Linked DNA regions of Homo sapiens: regions 1, 2, 3 and 4 are each linked to region 5. Evidence: promoter capture Hi-C in human tissues and cell types (Jung and others, 2019). All regions are on one chromosome and are shown on one strand. The core of a region is centred on a gene start or on the middle of the fragment in contact, and the rest is flanking DNA. Distances in the headings are between cores, read along the strand shown. Region 1 holds the start of SLC2A4 (solute carrier family 2 member 4). Region 2 holds the start of SHBG (sex hormone binding globulin). Region 3 overlaps ZBTB4 (zinc finger and BTB domain containing 4). Region 4 holds the start of SOX15 (SRY-box transcription factor 15). Region 5 holds the start of AURKB (aurora kinase B).

The links. The method cuts DNA at HindIII sites, captures the fragments that hold promoters and counts their contacts. A contact is called where the count stands out against the background at its distance.
Region 1: a contact is called between the fragment with the promoter of SLC2A4 here and the fragment with the promoter of AURKB in region 5, in 1 of the 25 tissues and cell types used here (small bowel).
Region 2: the fragment with the promoter of SHBG here is called in contact with the fragment with the promoter of AURKB in region 5 in 1 of the 25 tissues and cell types used here (heart left ventricle).
Region 3: a fragment that was not itself captured here is called in contact with the fragment with the promoter of AURKB in region 5 in 1 of the 25 tissues and cell types used here (psoas muscle).
Region 4: the fragment with the promoter of SOX15 here is called in contact with the fragment with the promoter of AURKB in region 5 in 1 of the 25 tissues and cell types used here (heart left ventricle).

Annotation. Positions count from the first base shown.
Region 1 is chr17:7,280,468-7,284,604 of GRCh38, reverse strand. SLC2A4 (solute carrier family 2 member 4) reads right to left here and starts at 2,887. Exons shown (of 11, transcript NM_001042.3): 1 at 2,638-2,887; 2 at 1,244-1,360; 3 at 960-1,132; 4 at 743-867; 5 at 516-631; 6 at 226-388; 7 at 1-120. The coding sequence starts at 2,670. RefSeq lists an enhancer at 1,654-2,641 and a silencer at 2,774-2,923. The HindIII fragment of the contact is 23,134 bases long and covers 1-4,137 here.
Region 2 is chr17:7,628,788-7,633,389 of GRCh38, reverse strand. SHBG (sex hormone binding globulin) reads right to left here and starts at 3,255. Exons shown (of 8, transcript NM_001040.5): 1 at 3,107-3,255; 2 at 2,883-2,974; 3 at 2,521-2,710; 4 at 2,029-2,190; 5 at 1,642-1,801; 6 at 1,375-1,511; 7 at 431-638; 8 at 18-186. The coding sequence starts at 3,217. The coding sequence ends at 38. RefSeq lists an enhancer at 675-764. The HindIII fragment of the contact is 13,012 bases long and covers 1-4,602 here.
Region 3 is chr17:7,472,215-7,476,990 of GRCh38, reverse strand. The region is part of intron 1 of ZBTB4 (zinc finger and BTB domain containing 4); the gene reads left to right. Among named protein-coding and RNA genes, the nearest start is that of ZBTB4, 5.0 kb to the left of the region's middle. The HindIII fragment of the contact is 3,437 bases long and covers 1-3,208 here.
Region 4 is chr17:7,587,159-7,591,393 of GRCh38, reverse strand. SOX15 (SRY-box transcription factor 15) reads left to right here and starts at 1,300. Exons shown (of 2, transcript NM_006942.2): 1 at 1,300-2,250; 2 at 2,848-3,216. The coding sequence starts at 1,718. The coding sequence ends at 3,016. It overlaps FXR2 (FMR1 autosomal homolog 2), which reads left to right. Exons shown (of 17, transcript NM_004860.4): 17 at 1-164. It overlaps MPDU1 (mannose-P-dolichol utilization defect 1), which reads right to left. Exons shown (of 7, transcript NM_004870.4): 6 at 4,123-4,233; 7 at 3,182-3,968. The coding sequence ends at 3,843. RefSeq lists an enhancer at 1,582-2,156. The HindIII fragment of the contact is 6,906 bases long and covers 1-3,615 here.
Region 5 is chr17:8,208,183-8,212,607 of GRCh38, reverse strand. AURKB (aurora kinase B) reads left to right here and starts at 2,033. Exons shown (of 9, transcript NM_004217.4): 1 at 2,033-2,078; 2 at 2,359-2,431. The coding sequence starts at 2,384. RefSeq lists enhancers at 2,531-2,580, 2,142-2,801. The HindIII fragment of the contact is 18,109 bases long and covers 1-4,425 here.

The DNA.
Region 1 (4,137 bases), core at 1,638-4,137, 930 kb after region 5:
TACGGCTGCCCAGGAGCTGGAGCAGGGACAGTGGCCGCTCACGCTCCAGCTTCCGCTTCTCATCCTTCAGCTCAGCCAGCACTCCAGAAACATCGGCCCAGCCTGTCAGGCGCTTCAGACCTGGAGAAGGGAAGGTCAGGCCTGAGGGGACCTGAGAGGAAGCCAGGTGCTAGCAAGATGAGGCGGAGGCATGGGCCTGGGCCAGGCTGCAGCGGGAGAGCTTACTCTTTCTGGCAGGCCCCTCGAGATTCTGGATGATGTAGAGGTAGCGGGGGCTCTCGGGACAGAAGGGCAGCAGGACCAGCTGCAGGAGGGCAGGTAGCACTGTGAGGCCCAGGAGCAGTGGCCACAGGCTGGCAGTGCCCAGGAGGGACTCCAAGCCCAGCACCTGTGGGAGAAGGTTGGGAAAGAAGGCAGGTCACTCAGCCCTTCTGCCTTACCTTGGAAGCCCACCATATTCTCCAGAGCCCCACTCTAACCACTGCCCAGGCACCCATGAGGCTTGCTCCGGTCACCTGGGCGATCAGAATGCCGATAACAATGGCCAGTTGGTTGAGCGTCCCCAGGGCGCCCCGCAGGTGAGTGGGAGCAATCTCCCCCACGTACATGGGCACCAGCCCTGATGTCAGCCCTGGGCGAGGGAAGAAGAGAGGGCTGAGGGCAGGTGTCCATTCCCATCTGAAAGCCCAGGCATGGTGAAAGAGAACAGGGCGCTAGGCAGGGCTGTGGTGCCCGTGAGTACCTGAGTAGGCGCCAATGAGGAATCGTCCAAGGATGAGCATTTCATAGGAGGCAGCAGCATTGGCCAGGCCCATGAGGCTGCCCCCCAGCACCGCCAGGACATTGTTGACCAGCATGGCCCTTTTCCTGGCAGGCAGACAGAGTGAGGCTGTGAGGGTGAGGGCACCCAGCAGTGGCTCCCTTCCTGTTTCCCCCACCCCTGCCCTCCAGCTGCGAACCTTCCAAGCCACTGAGAGATGATACCAATGAGGAAGGAGGAAATCATGCCGCCCACGGAAAAGATGGCCACGGAGAGGGCCCAGAGGGTGGTGAGGGTGCCTGGAGGGATGGAGCTGGGTCCCTCAGGCCCCTGCCTCCCCAGCCACGTCTCATTGTAGCTCTGTTCAATCACCTGGGGGACAGCAGAGGACAGATTTCCTGCAGACCGTCCCCTTTCCACCACCCCCGAGACACCTGTCCTCCTCGTTTGGGTACCCCCACCCTGCCAGCTGCAGGCCCTCACCTTCTGAGGGGCATTGATGACCCCAATGTTGTACCCAAACTGCAGGGAGCCAAGCACCGCAGAGAACACAGCAAGGACCAGGGTCCCAGTCACTCGCTGCTGAGGGGGTTCCCCATCCTGAACAGGCAGACACAAAGACACAGCATGTCACATGGAACCATGATTTTTTTCCTTCCGCTAGGGGCCCGGGCCCAGCTGGAGCCTGAAGATACTGGGCTCCACCCAACATGTTGGGTGAGGGAAACTGGGCCATATTAGGAATTGCACAAAGATCTCAATGTAAACAGGAGCTGAACTGCAACCTGGGCATAAAGGAGAAACTGGATGTTTGGGTCCATAAGGCAGAGAAATGTTTGAGAACTTGTCTCAAAATTCTTCTGTGACCTTGAGACAGGCTTGGCCTTAAGAGCTCAGATTTGTGTGACCTTGGCCAAGTCACTTCCCTGCCCCGAACCTGAGTGTCCTCTGTGAGATGGGGGTGATGTTGCCTGCCTTGCCTACCTATCTGTGAGAGTGTTGTGAAAATCAACATCACATGTTAACAATATCCTTGACAGTGCTGGTTTCATAAATTAACACGTGCATTATTATCATCAGCCACTGTCCTCTTCCCTCCCCTCTGGGGGTTCTGTCAGCCAGCTCCAGGAGGCCCCCAACAGGACCAAGAAGTGCTGTTCCAGAAAGGACATCCCGGTCATCTAGGGGTGGCCTTCTCTATCTACGTCGTGGCCTGCCCTCCCCCTCTAACCTCCGTGCAGGGAGGGCCGTCCAGGGGTTCTGCCTGGGAGAGCCATGCCCAGGGGAGGAGGGCAGGAAGGTAGTGTGAGGGGCGGTGGCAGTGGTGGCCGCTCGCTGGCGGCACAGACTGTCTCCAAGCGGAAACCTGAGCTGGAGGAGGGGGGGCTGACAGTCCCCTCTGCCCCTCCACCAACCATGGGGCCAAGGGAAAGTTCAGCGTCCTGGAGGGCGGCCAGGAGTGGGGGTGGGGGCCCACGGAGAGCCTCCGGTCCTCGAAACACTGCCCGTGAGCGAAGACGGACGGACAGCTCCCGGAGGGCAAGACCCGCCTGGATCTGCTTTCCCGAGTCGGATCGAGGGCAGGGTGTCCCCGATTCCGGAGCGCCGCGCCGCCTACTAGGCAAGGGGGTGAACCCTGGCTCGCAGAATCCACTTGCTGCCTGTGCCCCGAAAGGCCCTCCAGACCCACTCTGCCTTTTGGTAGGATTGGAATCTCACAGTCACGGGTTGTCCAGGCCGGGTATAAATAGCCAGCCCCCTACCTTCACCCCCTGCGCCTGCGCAGGAACCACCCCCAGCTGACCCCAACCGCGACCCCAGCCCAAGAAAAGCGGGACCCGTGCCCCCCCGCCCCGCCCCCTCATGATGAATCCTACTTCGGAGCCTATCTGTTGGAAGCCCGACGGCATCTCGTCTTAGAAGAGCTGGACGCGCAGGGGCGGCGAAGATGAAAGAACCGATCCTGGAGTCTCTGACTCCGGCCTGGAGCGCAGAACCTGCGGAGGCCGCGGGGGTCCCGGAGTGACGTGCGAGGGCGGGCCCGATGGGACCCACAGCCACAAGCCAAGGACCCGGAGAGCAGTGGGGCTCCCGCGGATCTGGTGGAGCGGGGCTGGGGGAAAAGACGCGAGAAGCCCCCGCCACCTCGCTCCTGCCCCCGCGGGCCACGCCCTTCACAGCACCCATTGGCCAGGAGCCCGCACACCCCAGAAGGCCACGCCCCCTCCGCCTGGGGTTTAGAGTTTGGCTGGAGTTGGTGGGGCGGGCCAATGAGGCCACGCCCCTCCGCGTGGCTGGCGAGACACGCCTCTCGGGTTCCCGCCAGCCTCCGACTGGGAAGTTTTGAGAAAAGAGTCCCTGGAACAAAAGGCCCCGCCCACCCACGTGTTAGGACTCCGCCCACCAGCTAGGATCCCGGGCTGCAGAAGCATCTTAAACTCTGCGGGTCTGGACAGTGGGGTCTGAGAGGAGAGGACGGGCCAGGTGTACTTGCCCCGGGGAAACTCCAGCGGCCTGAGACGGCTCGCGAGCCGGCGCGCGGGTTGGGAGAGGAGCAATGCCCCAAAGTAACCCGGGGCTGCTATTTTTAGCTCCCACGTTGGGAGCCTCCAAATGTCAGGTCCCGGGCGTCCCGGCCTGTCCCAGGCGGGGGCGGAGAGACAGGGAGATGACGCCTTAAAGAGTCCGCGACATGCTTCCCACGCGAGTGTGGCCCTGGGGGCCAGGAAATTCCGTTCCCACAACGGGTCTGGTGGCCGGGCTGCTTGGTCCTGTCTTTCAGCGCCTCCCTGCTCCGGGCACTGTCTATCCCGCCCTTCCCCTACACACATTCCCCAGGTTGGTTCCTGGAGCCGGTCCGAGGGACAAGTGGTCACAACCGACCACACCACCAGCCCTGAGGTCTCTGAGCCTCTGAGGTCTCTGAGCATATGCTGGCCGCGTGAACGACACGCTCTCTGGAGGCTGCTCCGGGTTTGGATCCTCGGCCAAATTCTGCCAGGCAGAAAGTGCGCGACCTAGGGTCGGCGTGTGGGGAGAGAGAAGCCGAAATACCCAGAGCGTGGAGAGTGTCTGGCTCAGAAAACGGGCTTCGGAAGCGCAGGGTTGTGCTGCCACCTGGAGGGCGAGCGAGGAGCCGCAGTGGATTGCACTTGGAATCTCAACCCACTATTTCTCGCCTTTCCGCCACCATAGGGCTTCAGTGACATCTGACCCAGGCCCTTCTCTGGAGCTGCAGATCCAGGTGTTCGTTACCGCCCGGATGTGGCAGCTCTAGTGATCAGCATGTCCAAACCTGCTCCTCCTCCTAACTTCCTTATTTCAATGAATTACCCGCCCAGTCACCCCTATGGTAGAAGTCAGGCTCGATTCCTCCT
Region 2 (4,602 bases), core at 2,006-4,505, 580 kb after region 5:
AATCAGTAACTTTCAAAGGGGGTTCTTAGGTGGAGCTTTAATGGGAAGCGTCAGTGCCATTGCCTGGGCTCTGGGGGCAGCTGTGAGTCCAGATCTCATGGCTTCTGTTCAGGGCCTGGTCCACATCCAGCCTCTGACCTTGTGCCCAAAGGCCATTCAGGCAAAAAGAGGTGGAAGAGTCTTCTCCTAGAGGGAGGTAGTGCAAAGGTGGCATTAGAGCATTAAGGTGGCTCGGATCCAGAATCTTCTCCCCACTTTTCCACTCCTCCAACCTGAGTTTGCAAAAGCACTACCTTCCACTGCCCCCATATCTTCTTCTTGTGGCCTATTCTTCTTCCCTCCCAGAGGTTTCCTTCCCCTCAAAATGTGCCGCCTCCCTTGAGCTGTTTCCAATGTTGTGCTCATGAACTTGAACATCATTCTCTCTTACCTGGTAAAGCCCCCAGGAAGAGACGCCCTTGAGGCTTGGCCCAGAGGTTAAGGAGGGGAGCCAGGCCTAAGGGAGGCAGGGCAAGGGCCTTCATCTTCGACCCTTGGCTCAAGACCACCCTGGACATACTCAGCTTCAGCTGAAGAGGGAGTCCCAAGACCAGGGGCAGATCCAGCCCTGGCCCCGACCCAGAAGACAACACCACCTTCTGCAGAGTGTGTGGGAAAGGGACGGTAGAGAGAGAGGGAAGAATGAGCCGGGCCTACTGCCTGTGGCCTCACCCCTAGCTGCCTTAATTCTGCCTCTTCGCTATGCCTCCACCTACTGGCCATTCTCACCACTTAAATCCTGCCCCAATTTTTTTTGGCTTGACCCTTTTTGAAACCACACCTGCCCCAAGTAAATATGCAGTCTAAGTCAAAACTGTTTGCTTGCTGTGGGGAGCTTCAAGATATGTCCCTCGCCCCTACCACCCACCTGAGTGCCATCCATAAGCCTTATTTTTATTTTTATTTTTTTGAGACAGGGTCTCACTGTGGCCCAGGTCAGAGTGCAGTGGCACATCATAGCTCACTGCAGCTTCAAACTCCTGGGCTCAAGTGAACCTCCTGCCTCAGGCTCCTAAATAGCTAGGGCAGCAGACATGTGCTACCATGCCTGGCTAATTTTTTTTTTTTTTTAGACAGAGGTCTCTGCTATGTTGCCCAGGCTGGTGTCAAACTCCTGGCCTCAAGTGATCCTCTGGTCTTGGCCTCCAGCACCTGGGATTACAGGCAAGCACCACCATGCCTGGCTAATTATTAATGAAAAACAATTCTGTGGAGCCAGTCTTGTTATGTTCCCTGGGCTGGAAACCTTCCTAATATTGACATGTTGGACTCCCCTCTTCCCTCATTGCTCCAGGCTCCACTGAATACAGGCAATGCCCCACTGTCCCCCTTTACTTGATCTTGGAGGTGGAGACTGAGCCAAGATGGGTTCTCTGGTGTCCCAAGAGCAAGGAGGTGGCCTGAGCCTGCTGCCTGCTTGAGTCCCAGGTCCAAAGAGAAGGCCCAGGGCTCTGCATGAGGCTGGGGAATGTCTGTGGGGAGAAATGATTATCCTGAGGCCTCAAAGCTGGGGTCTCAAGGAGGAAAGGGGCCAGTGGTAGAGGGGGACAGAGGCAGGCTGAGCTGGCCAGGGTGGGAAAAATAGACTCCGAGGAAATCTACCTCGGAGATTGAATTCTGCCTGAGTCCCTGGAGGGAGAAATATCCCGGGATTTGATTCTACATCACAGCTTCTGAGGCTAGTGGGGGCAGATGCTGAGATCTCGGCCTGTTTGTCCAGCCAGGAATCCCGGCGCAGGCAGCCATCCAGGGCAGGAACCAGCTGGAGTGTGACAGAGATAAGATACGGGGATGTAGAAATCAGGGCATCGGAGCCGCAGTCCCGACCTCCCTGCCCTCAGTTGACTCCCCTCTGAGCATTTGGCCTCCCCCTTGCAGCTCTCAACCCTTCCCTTCTCCCTAAAAGTGTGGACTTAGATTCCCACGGCCAGCCACCCAGCAGTGCTTTACCAAGTCTTGGCTAGGGTTCCACCCCTGGGGTGTAGTTACCGGCAACCGAAGGTTGGAAGCGGGGAAGAGCAGCCCCCCAAGCGCAATCCTCATGATGGGATGGCGTTTGCTGGTCAGGGGCCCAGAGACCTGTCTCAGGCGCAGCACCTCCTCCCCATCCACCTCCAGCAGCACAGAGTCCCCCTCCATCTTGACTTCCACCTGCAGGAAGGTGGGAAGCAAAATCAGAGGCCCCTGGGATCTGTTTCTGCCACCTTCCTGTGAGGCAGCCTAGTACTATAGTGGAAAGAACATGCCTTAAAGAAGCAGCTAGCATCCTTGGCCTTGGGTCACTCAGCTCTTGTCACTTATATACTGACTGAGCCTTAGAATTCCCATCAGAAAAGATGGGGCCAAGAATAGCTACTTTGTGGGGGTTCGTGTGGATTAAACGAGATGACAGTGGTAGAGGGATGCCCAATAACTTGGTTTTGTTCCCTTTCCTCAGACCAGCTCCAGACATCCCTCCCCTGAGGACCAGAGCTAGCTTACCTGGTGCCATCTCCCATCATCCAGCCGTGGTCCAGCACCCACCGTAAGCTGGGCCCAGTGATTGTGCAGTTGGATCTCAGGCCTGCCGTCTCGAAGTCCCAGCATAAACCAGTCATCCTTAGGGTTGGTATCCCCATAAAAAATCACTCCCTCTGGGTCCCAGGTTCGAACCTCAAAGGAGGAGGAGGTTCTGGAAGGACACAGAAGGAAAGATTGTGTATGTCATGTGTCCTTTGAGAACCAGTGTGGGTTTGGGGGAGATGGTGTTCACAGATAAGGAAAGGAAGACAGGGAAAAGAGAAGAGCTGATGGAGAGAGGGCAGAACCAGGGGACTGGGTCAAGGGCTAGGCCAACCCCATACTTTGTGATCTTGGTGAGGTCAAAGGTCATGACAGCGATAGGCTCTTGTCCTGGGCCATTGCTGAGGTGGACAGCCGGAGGGTCGTGGGCACTCTATCAGAAAGAGAAAACAAACAAAGCTGAGTAGGGACATGTCAGAGACAGACAGAGGGAGAGGCCCTGCTACAGGGCCAGAGGAGAGAAGGGAAGACTGCATGAGCTGAGTGCCCTGTCCCGCTCCTGCACCTGGGTGGGGAGAACAGGTCTCAGGGCCCATCCCTGGCGGGTGTGACGCAGTAGTAGCAACAGCAGCAACAGCAGCAGGCGCGAGGTAGCCAGTGGGCCTCTGCTCTCCATAATCAGCCACTGTCCACTCGGCGGCTCAGACAACTCTTGGGAGAATGTGTAGAGGCAGGCAGCCTTGCGTGTGGGCGGTGGAGGGTTAAAGGTTGCCCGGGGAGGAGGGGGTAAAGGAAACAGGGGCACTGACCCTTGACCCCTGCCCAGGGGCCCAGTCACAAGACTCAGCTATCACCCCTCTGGGGATCAATGGGGTGAAGGACAGAGTCCCCTCCACTATCATCCTCCACTGCCGAGAAAGTTTCTGAACTGGGAGAGGATATTCCATCTCCCCTCTCCTCCTCTAGGGCCTGATCTAGGTCCTCCAAGATTTCTGTCCACTCGGGGAGCCTGCATTCACAGGCCTGAGGTCTAGAAACAGTCCTCCCCTGCGTCCCAAGTAGCATCCTGTATCAGGACTAGAAATGAGATAATGGAATCCTAAATTTCTAGCTGAGTGACCTTGGGCAAGTCACTTCACCTCTGTGCTTCAGTGTCCTTGTCTGTAAAATGAGGAAAATAATACTTTACGGGGTGACTGTGAAAGAGGGTTCATTGAGAAAATGCAGGCACAGTGCCTGGCATCTGGTCTGAACTCCTCCCCCAGTCTTTTCCCAGGCCTCTGAGGCCTGTCTCCCAAGAAGGTATTGTCTGTGTGTATGATTCAGTGAATATTAAGAAGGGACCTGCCCCCCGCCTCTCAGTTATCTTCCCTTATCCATTTATTACAGGGCCTAAACAGTCTAGCAGTAGAAATCACCCACTCCCTGACCCATTTTATTTTATTTTATTTTATTTTATTTTATTTTATTTTAGACAGAGTCTTGCTCTATCACCCAGGCTGGAGTGCAGTGGCGTGATCTCGGCTCACTGCTGCCTCTGCCTCTCGAGTTCAAGCGATCCTCCTGTCTCAGCCTCCTTAGTAGTTGGGACTACAGGTGCACGCACCACCACGCCCAGCAAATTTTTTTGTGTTTTTAGTAGAGACGGGGATTTCACCACGTTGCCCAGGCTGATCTCGAACCTCTGACCTGAAATGATCCGCCCACCTCAGCCTCCCAAAGTACCTGGATTACAGGCATTAGCCACAAGGCCCGACCCTCCCTGACGCATTTTATTTTATTTATTTATTTTGAGATGGAGTTTCGCTTTTGTTGCCCAGGCTGGAGTGCAATGGCACGATCTCGGCTCACTGTAACCTCCACCTCCCAGGTTCAAGCGATTCTCCTGTCTCAGCCTCCCGAGTAGCTGGGAGTAAAGGCATGCGCCACCACACCTGTCTAATTTTTGTATTTTTAGTAGAGACGGGGTTTCACCATGTTGGTCAGGCTGGTCTCAAATTCCTGATCTCAGGTGATCCGCCTGCCTCTGCCTCCCAAAATGCTGGGATTACAGGTGTGAGC
Region 3 (4,776 bases), core at 241-2,740, 740 kb after region 5:
AAGTCACTTAGCTAGTAAGAGGTGAAGCTGTATTTGAACCCGGGCAATCAGGTTGAAGATCTTGTGCTCTTAACTACTGTACTCTGCTGCCTTCTGGAACATTCAGTGGATGGTCCTTTCTGTGCAACTCCCTCCAACACTCTTCTCCCCAGTTGCTGCAGAACTTAGCATTTGCAGCAGTCCATTTCAGAAGACCCGGATGCTCAGGGATCCCCAGCTGAGGGCATGAGAACCTGAGTCTCTGCTGCTGTGTAAGGTGGATGCTGGCCATAGGAGCACAAAAGGTTGATGAGTCAGAGGAAGGAATGATCGTTCTCATCCTGTGGATCAGGGAGGGCCAAGAAGGAGGTGGCCTTGGAGTCAGATCTTAACGTTTTGGAGGGATTTTGACAAGCTTGGGGAAAGAGCATTTCTGGCAGAACAAGCCAGCACAGGCAAAGGCATGAAGGTGTGGGTCATGTAGAAGCTGGAGAGCACACTGGGTGTCTGGGGTTTTGTTCATTTGTTTAGAAACTGGGTCTCAATATATTGCCCAGGCTGGACTCAAACTCCTGGGCTCAAGCAATCCTCTAGCTGCAGCCTCCTGAGTAGCTGGGACTATGGGTATCTGCCATCACGCCTGGCTCACGCTGAGTACTGTGTGTTTGAAGAGGATAACACAAGGCAAGATTAAAAAGGAAGATTGGAGCTAGACCAGAGCCCTTGACTGCCTGGTAGAAGAATTTGAACTTTCTTCTAGAGTCAGTGGGGACCAGTGGAGGTTTTGAGCCCAGGAGTGATAGTCCTGAACTGTGGTTAGGGACGTTGACCCTCAGGGGGAGGAGGGCTGGATGGAGGAAGGTAAGCCTGGAGGCCAGGGGATAGCTGGGAGGCCATAACCTTGGACCACGTGAGTGTTAACAAGGACCTGAGCTATCGAAGGGAAGATTTCCAGAGCCATTCCCAAGCTCGGCGGCGATTTCAGCCACACTTGATGACTGCTGGATGTGGAAGTGAGGGAAAGGGTGGAGTCAGACATGACACATTTAGCACTTAGCACGTGAGACCTTGTGCGGTGGTTTATGTAACCAGCTGGCGGGCCATAGGCCTCTTCAGGGCCAGGTCTAGCAGTATGGCAGAGGGAAAGATTGAGCATCTGGGGTCAGCTGGGCCTGGATTCGAATCTTGACTGCTGCTTACAAGCTGTGCGACCTCGAGTAAGGTATATCCCTCTCTGAGCCTCGGTTTCCTCTTCTGTAAAATTAGAATAATATGGCCGGGCGCAGTGGCCCATGCCTGTAATCCCAGAACTTTGGGAAGCCAAGGCAGGTGGATCACCTGAGGTCAGGAGTTCAAGACCAGCCTGGCCAACATGGAGAAACCCTGTCTCTACTAAAAATAAAAAAACTAGCTGGGCGTGGAATCCCAGCTACTCTGGAGGCTGAGGCAGGAGAATTGCTTGAACCCAGGAGACGGAGGTTGCAGTGAGCCGAGATCACGCCACTGCGCTCCAGCCTGGGCAACAGGATAATATAAAACCTATTGTGGGTGGCTGTACTGAGAATATCATTAAATGAGGTAATGTGTGTGAGGCCCCAAGAAGAGTATGAGGCAAATTGTGAGGACTCCAGAGTGGTCAACTTATTTATGGTTTCTTTTAATTTTTTTTTGAGACGGAATTTCTCTCTTGTTACCCAGGCTGGAATGCAATGGCATGATCTTGGCTCACTGCAACCTCCGCCTTCCGGGTTCAGGTGATTCTCCTGCCTCAGCCTCCCGGGTAGCTGGGGTTACAGGCGCCCGCCACTACGCCCAGCTAATTTTTTATTTTCAGTAGAGACCAAGTTTCACCATGTTGGCCAGGCTGGTCTCACCATGTTGGCTAGGCAGGTGGTCAATCCCTGACCTCAGGTGATCCACCTGCCTTGGCCTCCCAAAGTGCTGGGATTACAGGCGTGAGTTGGCCATACCTGGCCTTTTTTTTTTTTTTTTTTTTTTTTGAGGCAGAGTCTCACTCTGTCGCCCAGGCTGGAATGCAGTGGCGCAATCTCTGCTCGCTGCAACCGCCACCTCCCCGGTTCAAGCAATTCTCCTGCCTCAGCCACCTGAGTAGCTGGGGTTACAAGCGTGCACCACCACACCCAGCTAATTTTTGTATTTTTAGTACAGATGGGGTTTCATCATGTTGGCCAGGCTGGTCTGGAACTCCTGACCTCAAGTGATCTGCCCGCCTCAGCCTCCCAAAGTGCTGGGATTACAGGTGTGCGCCACTGTGCCTGGCCCAGAAGTGGTCAAGTTATAATTGTCATCCCTATCTCCAGGCCAACTCAGTCCAGCGTGGACGATGGCTTCCATCCTGGAGGATGGACTTTGAGGACAGGTTCATTCATTTACCAGTTTTTTTGTTTTGTTTTTACCACCTATTACGTGCTAGGCCCTATTCTAACGACTTCAGATACGGCAATGAACAAAGCAGACAAAATTCCCTACCCTTGGCCGGGCGCTGTGGCTCACACCTGTAATTCCAACACTTTGGGTGTCCAAGGCGGTGAATTGCTTGATCCCAGGAGTTCGAGACCAACCTGGGCAACATGGTGAAGCCCTATCTCTACTAAAAATACAAAAAATTCGCTGGGCGTGGTGGCATATGCCCGTAGTCCCAGCTACTTGGGAGGCTGTAATGAGAGAATCACCTGAGCCTAGGGGAGGTCAAGGCTGCAGGGAGCTGTGGTAACACCACTGCACTACAGCCTGGGTGACAAAGCAAGACCTCATGTCAAAAAAAAAAAAAGTCTGGCCATGGTGGCTCATGCCTGTAATTCCAGCGCTTTGGGAGGGAGGCCAAGGCGGGTGGATCACCTGAGGTCAGGAGTTCGAGACCAGCCTGGTCAACATGGTGAAACCCTGTCTCTACTAAAAATATAAAAATTAGCCGGGTGTGGTGGCATATGCCTGTAGTTCCAGGTTTTTGGGAGGCTGAGGCAGGAAAATTGCTTGAACCCAGGAGGCAGAGGTTGCAGTGAGCCGAGAGAGATCATGCCACTGCACTCCAGCCTGGGCAACAGAGCAAGATGCCATCCATCTCAAAAACAAAACAAAACCAAAAACATTCCTACCTTTTACCCCTTGGAGCTTACATTCCAGAGATAAATAAGAAATAGGAGCTGGGCGCAGTGGCTTTCCACTATGATCCCAGCACTTTGGGATGCTGAGCTGGGCGGATTGCTTGAGACCAGGATTTCAATACCAGCCCTGGGGAACATGGTGAAACCTCATCTCTACAAAAAATACAAAAATTATCTGGGCATGGTGGCAGGTACCTGTAGTCCCAGCTACTCAGAAGGCTGACAGGTGAGAGGATCATTTGAGCCCAGGAGGTTAAGGCTGCAGTGAGCCTCAATCTCACCATTGTACTGCAGCCTGGGCAACAGAGCAAGATCCTGTCTCAAAAAAAGATAAATAATTGACCAGGCTCTGTAATCCCAGCACTTTGGGAGGCTGAGGCGGGCAGATCACCTGAGGTCAGGAGTTTAAGACCAGCCAGGCCGACATGGTGAAACCCCATCTCTACTAAAAATACAAAAATTATCCGGGCCTGGCCAGGCGCGGTGGCTCATGCCTGTAATCCCTGCACTTTGGGATGCCGAAGTGGGCAGATCACAAGGTCAGGAGATGGAGACCATCCTGGCTAACATGGTGAAACCCCGTCTCTACTAAAAATACAAAAAAAAATTAGCCGGGAGTGGTGGTGGGTGCCTGTAGTCCCAGCTACTCCGGAGGCTGAGGCAGGAGAATGGCGTGAACCCGGGAGGCGGAGCTTGCAGTGAGCCAAGATCGCACCACTGCACTCCAGCCTGGGCGACAGAGCGAGACTCAGTCTCAAAAAAAAAAAAAAAAAAAATGGTGGCGCGCGCCTATAGTCCCAGTGACTCGTGAGGTTGAGGCAGGAGAATCTCTTGAACCCGGGAGGCGGAGGTTGCAGTGAGCCAAGATTGTGCCACTGCACTCCAGCCTGGGCGACAGAGCTAGACTCTGTCCCCCGCCGCAAAAAAAAAAGAGAAGCAGTTGGGCCAGTTTCAGTGGCTCATGCATGTCATCCCAGCACTTTGGGAGGCCGAGGCAGAAGGATCACTTGAGCCCAGGAGTTCGAGACCAGCCTGGCCAACATAGAGAGATCCAATCTCTACTAAAAATAAAAAATAAATTAACTGGGCATTGTGGTGTGCACCTGTGGTGCCAGCTACTAGGGACGCTGAGGTGGGAGGTCATGAGAGCCTGGGAGGTTGAGGCTGCAATGAACCATGATTGTGCCACTGCACTCCAACCTGGGCAACGGAGTGAGACCTCATCTCAAAAAAAAAAAAAAAAAAAAAAAAAGAATGGCCAGGTGCAGTGGCTCACTCCTATAATCCTGGCACTTGGAGAGGCAGAGGCGGGCAGATCACTTAAGGTCAGGAGTTCAAAACCAGCCTTGCCAGCATGGTGAAACCCCACCTCTACTAAAAATACAAAAAAATTAGCCAGGCTGGGCGCGGTGGCTCATGCCTGTAATCCCAGCCCTTTGGGAGGCCAAGGCAGGTGGATCACGAGGTTGGGATTTCAAGAACAGCCTGGCCAAGATGGTGAAACCTCGTCTCTACTAAAAATACAAAAATTAGCCGGACGTGGTGGCAGGCGCCTGTAATCCCAGCTACTCGGGAGGCAGAGGCAGGAGAATCGCTTGAACCCAGGAGGCGGAGGTTGCAGTGAGCCCAGATCGCACCACTGCACTCCAGCCTGGGCGACAGAGCTGGACTG
Region 4 (4,235 bases), core at 51-2,550, 620 kb after region 5:
GGGTGGGAGGCACGGGGAAGGTTTTGGAGTAGAACCAGGGGTGTGTATGAAGGGGGGTGACAAGGTCCCCCTGGGGAGGGGACCAACCTTGTCTGGTGGATGAGAAGGCGTATTTATTTTTCACTGTACAGTATTTAAAAAGAGAATAAAAAAATCCAAATGGCTGTCTGGCTCCTGTGCCTTCTTTGTCCCCAGTTTGGTCCATTTGTTTCTCTAGGACTGACCTGCCCTGGCCCCTGGCTCTTGTTTTCTGTTCCTCCACATCTGACTTCTCTTCATTGTCTCTTGTCCCAAAGATGGTCTTACTTCTGGGAATTCCTGACATTCCTAAACTCCCCAGGCCCAGGTTCTCCCTCCTGGTTCAGAGGAGGGGGGCTTGTGCCTTGTTGCTTCTCCCCTCCCCCAAGTTTGCTGGTAGAGGGAGTTGGGCCACTCCTATACCCTGAGTCACAGCACAGGCTAGGCAGGGCTGCTCAGAGCTGGAGCTGTTCCTGTAGAAGCTGAGAGCCAAGGCAGGCTGCTTAATCCGATTACCTGAGGCCTGGGGCTTGGGCTGGGCCGTTGGGCAGAGTGGGGAGCAGGGTTCCCTCACAGCAGCCTCTGGAGCCCGGGGTCCGGCCTTCTTGGTGGTGTTCTGTTCTGGCTCCAGGCTTTTTCTCCGGCATGCGCATCACAGACCTCTTAACTTGGGGAGTTGTCCTGGGTTTCCTGGCTCCCCCCTCATGACTTGGACGACTGAAGCTAAAACTTGCCATAATTCAATAGCAGTGGAGAAATATAGGTTTAGGGACTGGAGTTGGGAGGGCTTAAGTTTTCTCACTTGGGAAAGGGGTTGAATCACGGCCCAAGCACCTGCTGGAATGACTCAGGAAACAAAAATGGTCTCCCTCCTCGGCCTTTCTTGCCCCAGGGGCAGTTCTGGGATTTGAGGAGCAACAGGCACCAGGAAAGGGGTTGGGGTGGTGGTCCGGGATGCTCCCAAGCTCCTCTCAGCACAACTCGGGCCCTGAGGGCACTTCATCCCCCTGTGTTTGATCCCATTGTGGAAAGAATTGGCTTTAAATTGCCTGTGCTTCAGGGAGGGGAGGCAATCAGCAACGGGCTGGAAGGCCTGACATCAGGTCTTGGGTGGGGGGGGCGGGGGGCGTGGCACCCTGAGGGTGTTGGGGGCTGGGACAAACAGGACACCTGGGTTTACCTACGGGCTGAGGATGTTGGCGCCCTTAAGGAGGTGCAGTCTTATGGGAGGGACAGGGGCGGAGTCAGTCTTTAAAAGCTGTTCCCAGGTCTGGCCCGCCTGCCACAAACGCTGAGCCCAGGTGGGAGAGGTCTGGCCTATCCGCGCCTGGCAGCTGTCGGAACTCCGGAGACCACAAAGGGGTTTATGGTTTACCCCCTCCACGGAAGGTCGGTCTGATCGCAGCTGCGGGTCGGGGAGAGGGACCGGGGGTCCCCCAGTCAGTAGGCCTCAGAACACCTCTTCAGTGCCGGGGCACCAGACAGCGGATTTTGCATTCGACTCTCCCCAAAGTGTGCCGAACAGGTTGGAAGCAAAGGCTCCGGTTTAAGCTCTGGGCTTGGGGATAAAATACACTTTTTAAGGACCCAAGTTCCTCGGCAACGACTCCAGACTGGGAAGACCTTTCCATTTTCAGGATCGACGCTTCACGTTGAGGGGAGGGCATTCAGGACGCCCTCTTAAGGCTTCTCCCAACCCATGGCGCTACCAGGCTCCTCACAGGACCAGGCCTGGAGCCTGGAGCCTCCGGCTGCCACGGCTGCTGCCTCCTCATCTTCGGGACCCCAGGAGCGGGAGGGCGCTGGGAGCCCCGCGGCCCCCGGGACGCTGCCCCTGGAGAAGGTGAAGCGGCCGATGAACGCGTTCATGGTGTGGAGCTCCGCTCAGCGCCGCCAGATGGCGCAGCAGAACCCCAAGATGCACAACTCCGAGATCTCCAAGCGCCTGGGCGCGCAGTGGAAGCTGCTGGACGAGGACGAGAAGCGGCCCTTCGTGGAGGAGGCCAAGCGGCTCCGCGCCCGACACCTGCGCGACTACCCCGACTACAAGTACCGGCCTCGGCGCAAGGCCAAGAGCTCGGGCGCCGGACCTTCCCGCTGCGGACAGGGAAGAGGCAACCTGGCCAGCGGCGGCCCGCTCTGGGGGCCGGGGTACGCGACCACCCAACCGAGCAGAGGCTTTGGGTACAGACCCCCCAGCTACTCGACAGCCTACCTGCCTGGCAGCTATGGGTGAGTGCCTGGGAAGCGGGCCGAAGACGGAGGCCCATGCGCCCCTCTTCTGGAGCCTTGGTGGGGGCGGATGCCGGAGGACGGGAGCCCACCCAAGCAGAGGCCACTCGCGGCCAAGGTGTGGCGGGCGCAGGCCCAGTACCTCCGGGGCCTGTGTAGGGTGGGGCGGATCAGGGTTCTCCCAGAGGGCGTTTCCATCTCAGTCTGAAGGTGGTGGGCCCTGTAGGGTCAGGTGACTGACCCCTGGATGCGACTGTGTCCTAGTTAGATGCCCCGTTTCCCCCCTGCTTCTGGCCTGTGTGTGACCCAGCTTCCTCTCCCAGCCCCCAGGGCAAGGAGAGGCCGAGCTCATTCTGCCCTTTCCTGGCCTGACTCCCCAAGAGGAAAACAGCCGTGCAGCACGCAAGCCCGCTCCCGAGCGTGCCCCAACAGGGCCGCGGGCTCTCCATCCCGGGGTCGGCTTCCATGCCTGCTGCGCCCAGCGGGCTGGGTAGCCAGGGCTGGGTGGGTGGCACGCTCTACCCTGTCTGCCCAGAACTGGCCAGACTCACCTCCAACCCAGGGAAGTGCCCTCTAACCTCTTGTTTCTCTCTGCAGCTCTTCCCACTGCAAACTGGAAGCCCCCTCACCGTGCTCCCTCCCTCAGAGTGACCCTAGGCTCCAGGGGGAACTGCTGCCCACCTATACCCACTACCTGCCCCCTGGCTCTCCCACTCCATACAACCCTCCCCTTGCTGGTGCCCCCATGCCCCTAACCCACCTCTAACCCTCATGGACGCAGACCTCACGGGACGGGCCTCATCCTCCTTTTTTAATCCAGCAGCATCCCCTACCCCAGGCTGTCAACCCTTTCTCCTGTTGGACTACAGTTCAGAGGCAGCCTGCAGTCCTCCCATGATAGCCAGGGAGAGCCGCACAACATACAATTATATTTTTGGTAGTATTAAACAGTTTTGTATTATTCAACTGAGTCTCCAGTCTTTATTGTCCCATCTGTTCCCCTCACTGCAGCAGGAACCAGCCCCATCTCCACTCCCTTCCGCCTAGACCTGCCAGAGCAGGAACCTCCTCACCCCACCCTGGGGCCCTGCCTGAGTCATTCTCCGTCCCCCTTCCCCCACCCCAGCACTGGGGTCCGGGAGACAGTCCCAGCCGGGCTGAGGGAGGGAGGCAGCCACAGCCTCCCAGTCCCTCCACTCTGCCGTCCAGACTCAGTCTTCCAGGGCCAGAAGGGAAGCAGGGAGGCTGGAGGACAGGGTAAAACATTTGCCCAGGATAGTGTTACACAGCTGGAAATTGCTGCTAGAGGAGGAGGCTTGGCTGAATGACTGAATTAATAGTACATGTACAGGGCTTACGAAAGCACTCAAATGTCAAAATTTTGGCTTGGGAGACTCTACCCCCATCCTCTCCTTTTCTAAGGATCTGGATCCATCAACCATTTGTTTCCACTAAAAGAAAACCCTGGCTCAGAAAGTCTGCAAGTGCAGAGGAATGGAGGATGAGTAAGTCACACCAGCAGGCTGGCTCAGATGGGGAGAACCCTGAGGTTGGGTGAATGAGTGGAAACGGAATGACTCCAGTAGCTGGCTCTACTGCGCCTTTTTCTGCTTGTGGGGAGGCTTTGCATTCCAGTAGAAGAGCAGCTGGGCGGCGATGAGGCCGTTGCAGAGAGAGGAGACCACAAAGGTCCCAGCCATCAGGGGATCTCCGGTTTCCTGGTTGCAAGAGACAGAGCCAGGGTTACCCTTCAGCATAGCTCAAGAAAGGTTCCCTTATGGACAAAGGTTCCTCACGGGGCAGCTTTGGCCCTTAGCTGGGAGAAGTAAGACGAGGTTTTAGTGCCTTCTAGAAGGAAGATGTTGCACTCACCTGAATGGAAGTGAAGATTCGGGCCAGGGAGCCCCCAAACAGCAGGAAGACTGTGATGGCTGAGAGCTGGCCTGTGTGCCCGTTGTGGTAGTTGGTGGCTGCCTGGAGAAGCT
Region 5 (4,425 bases), core at 784-3,283:
CCGCCAAGCCTAGCCATGGTTTGTTTTTTCTACACAATATGCTTAAACAGCAAATAGCATTTAGAATGCATTCAGAAAGGATATTAGCTGAATAATAATCTTCTCTATTGTTCATGTAAGAAAAGTGCTAACGTAGGCATGTAGAGGCTCAACAATGTCATCAAGTCCTGAAGTTCTTTCCAGGCCTCTCTTCTGCCTTCTGCAATGTTAGGCTTCAATGTCAAGCTGCTTCCTTCAGTAGCACTAGAAGCAGCAATGAGGGCTGCATGCTTCCCTGCTCACTTCCAGAAATCTCTTCCTCCATACCTTGCCCTATACATCTTTTCATCTATATCATTTGTAATACACTTTATGATAAACCAGTAAACGTTAAGTGTTTCCTTGAGCTGCCCAGCATTCTGAGCAAGAAACTGATTCCCACTAGCTGGCCCACTTAAATCACAGGCTTATGCCTGATCCAATAACCATAATCTGGAATAAAAGGTATTGATTAGTATAAGTTAATTGGGGCTCATTTCTGGACCTGCAATGAAGTCAGTTTCCTTCTCAAATCCTCAAAACTCTAAGTGCTTTCAGAAGTGGGAATAAAGCTGGGCGCAGTGGCTCACGCCTGTAATCCAAGCACTTTGGGAGACCAAGGCGGGCGGATCACCTGAGGCCAGCCTGAGCAATGTGATGAAACCCCGTCTCTACTAAAAATACAAAAATTAGCCGGGCGTGGTCACATGCACCTATAATCCTAGGTACTCGGGAGGCTGAGACAGGAGAATCAGTTGCACCCTGGAGGAGGAGGTTGTGGTGAGCTGAGATTGTGCCATTGCACTCCAGCCTGGGCAACACAGCGAATCTTCATCTCAAAAAAAAAAAAAAAAGTGAGATTTAAATAGGTCTTCATCAACCTAGGGATTTGGGGTTGTCAGCAACAGAAACTACTACAGAAACCGACTGCATAGACTGGAGAGACAGGTGGTCCCCTAAAGGAAAAATAGAGTGTTAGAAGAAAGGAGAAGAGTGCTGGACAGTACATACTTAATAAATATCCACTGGTTATTTCATAGAAGGCCCAAAAATGTATTTATTTAACCCAGTAATGAAATCTGAGGGTTAGGAAGAGCAGAAAAGAAGGAAGTGTGGCAGGAAGGAGGAAAAATGAAAGTGGGCCCAAACAACACGGCAGCTAACAGAGATCTTGCAACGAAAGGTCTATTGGTGGAAAAACTCCTCCCAGGAATGTCAGAACTTTTAAGAACGACATAGTAATGACACAAGAATAAACACACAGGCAAATGAGCAAACAACGGAATACAAAGTCTAGAAATAGACACAAGTAAATATGCTAACATTATATATCAAGGGCAGCATTTAAATTCTGTTGGGGCAGTTTGTTTAACAAATGGTGTTGACATAACTGGCGCTCCATCGGGCAGAGAAGTTAGACCCCAGCTCATACATGCATAAGGATAAACTCCAGTTACATTAAAGATTTAATTTTTTTTATAAAAAGAAGAAGGCCGGGCACGGTGGCTCACGCCTGTAATCCCAGCATTTTGGGAAGCCGAGGCGGGTGGATCACCTGAGGACAGGAGTTCGAGACCAGATTGGCCAACACAGCGAAAACCCGTCTCTAATAAAAATACAAAAATTAGCCAGGCGTGGTGGCGGGCGCTTGTAATCCCAGCTACTCGGGTGGCTGAGGCACGAGAATCGCTTGAACCCGGGAGGCAGAGGTTGCAGCAAGCCCAGATAGCACCATTATACTCCAGCCTGAGCGACAGAGAGAGACCTGTCTCAAAAAAGGAAAAAAAAAAAGAAAAGAAAAAGCAAGATAATTCACTGGGGGAATTTGGGGAAACTTTCCTAAACTGGAAGCCAAGCGTGAGCCCTTCTCATTCCGCCTCTTCCATTGGGTTCCCATGACTTACGTCACAGGACATCGAGCCAATGGGAACTAGGCATGGGCGACGAGCTTGCCCAATGGGGCCGGGGCGGGAGATTTGAAAAGTCCTTGGCCAGGGCGCGGCGTGGCAGATTCAGTTGTTTGCGGGCGGCCGGGAGAGTAGCAGTGCCTTGGACCCCAGGTGAGCTGGCCTCCTGTCGCAGGCCTTGCGCCGGGAGTGGGCAGATGATCAGGTAGATCAGAGGGTCCGTTGGGCTGGCCTGCGCGCACGCCGCAGGGCTGGAAGGAGGTAGGGACGATAGCAGGGCGGGGGCGGTGAGACCAGCGCCCAGATTGGGGCTAGTGTGCTGACCTGCTCCCTTTTACCAGCTCGGGCTAGCGCTTCCGGCTCGATCGGTCCAACCCCTCCCTCTCTCTCTCTTTTTCTCTGCTTCTCACGGCTGTTTCCCTTCTCCGCCCAGCTCTCCTCCCCCTTTCTCTCTAAGGATGGCCCAGAAGGAGAACTCCTACCCCTGGCCCTACGGCCGACAGACGGTAAGGCCCTTCCCTCCGTCCCTGCGCCCCCATGACCCCGCATGGCGAGTTCCTGCTGGGAAACTTGAGATCCTGCAATGAGCAATCCTTTAAGCACTTTCTTCCCCGTTATGCTCCAAAGTACGGGTCCCAAGTTTGACGACAGAACCCGCTCTGGTCATTTGTAGCCACATCCTGTCAGGTGCTGCCAACGTGAATCTGACCAGCCAGTGACTCCCAGCTGGTGAGGACCTCTGCAGGGCTCGTCACATACAAATGATATCTGGGACTGAGCAGGCAGGGCCTGGCCTTCAGGCCATGATTCCCAATCCATATCCTGAAAAAAAAAAAACTAGACAGCAAATAGAAATAGACTCTAAAAGGATATAAAGTTACAGTTTAAAAGGCCCAGGGCAAGTCTAAATTACAATTTGGAATTAATGACTAAATTGAGGTAAGAATCTAAATGGATCTAAATTGACTTATTTCCCAATGGTCCAGACAGATTTCATTGAAGGGCCTCCTCTCTGATTTGAAATGCCACCTTTATTATATATATAAATTCCCACATATATGTGGGTCTATTTCTGGACTGTATTTTATTCAACTTGCTTATTTGTAGATTGGTACCAATATCACTATTTGGGGCCTAGGGGCTTTCTTCTCTTGGCTGCAGAAGAAGGAAGGGGCCCTGCACAGGCTTTGCTCCCTGTTTTTGGAGCTCTTGCTTCCTGGAGAGTCTGTCTGTTCCCTTGTACATCAGCTCCCTCCCTCATGGAGCACTGAGTGAGGCTGTCAGGAATGGAGTCTGAATGAGAAACCATTGTCACTTTTACCTTAGTCACTCCTAAAAGAAAATGTACCTATTATTTTGAGAGTTGAAAGTGAGGCCAGGTAGGTGGCTCACGCCTGTAATCCCAGCACTGGGAGGCTGAGGCAGGTGGATCACCTGAGGTCAGGAGTTCGAGACCAGCCTGGCCAACATGGTAAAACCCCGTCTCTACTAAAAATACAAAAATTAGCCAGGCATGTGCCTGTAATCCCACCTACTCAGGAGGCCGAGGCAGGAGAATTGCCTGAACCTGGGAGGTGGAGGTTGCAGTGAGCCGAGATGGCACCATTGCACTCCAGCCTGGGTAATAGAGCGAGACTCCATCTCAAAAAAAAAAAAAAATGAAGAAGTTGAAAGTGAGAAGTGGTCCAGGGCCATCAGGGTAGCTCTTAGTGTCCTTAAAGCCTGTTCTTGCAAAAGTGTAAATCCTGGTTATTGCTATAACATTCAAGGCCTCAAGCATCTTATCTAAGCCTTAATAAACTAAGCTTTTTAGGAGACTTTGAGAATACCTCTGTGCTAAACCCCTTGAATTGTGGGTGTTCATTGACGCAGCTCTCTACTGTGGTGTAAGTGAGGGGCTGGATGAATGACTGTGTTGTTATGGACAGGACTTATACAGGTTGAACAGCTTCATGCCTGAAAAGTGTGGGCCAGGGCCAAAGAAGTGAAATGTTAGGTGTTGGTGTGAGTCCTTTGCCCCTTATCTTAGGCCTACTTAGGTTATTTATTTTTTATTTATTTATTTATTTATTTATTTATTTATTTATTTTTTGAGACGGAGCCTCACTGTGTTGCCCAGGCTGGAGTGCAATGGTGCGATCTCAGCTCACTGCAACCTCTGCCGCCCAGGTTCAAGCGATTCTCCTGCCTCAGCCTCCCGAGTAGCTGGGATTACAGGCGCCTGCCACCACACCTGGCTAATTTTTTTTTTTTTTTTTGAGATGGAGTCTAGCTCTGTTGCCCAGGCTGGAGTGCAATGGTACGATCTCGGCTCACTGCAACCTGTGCCTCCCAGGTTCAAGCGATTCTCCTGCCTCAGCCTCCTGAGTAGCTGGGATTACAGGAGCGTGCCACCACGGCCAGCTAATTTTTGTATTTTTAGTAGAGATGGGGTTTCACTGTGTTGGCCAGGCTGGTCTCAAACTCCTGACCTTGTGATCCGCCTGCCTCGGCCTTCCAA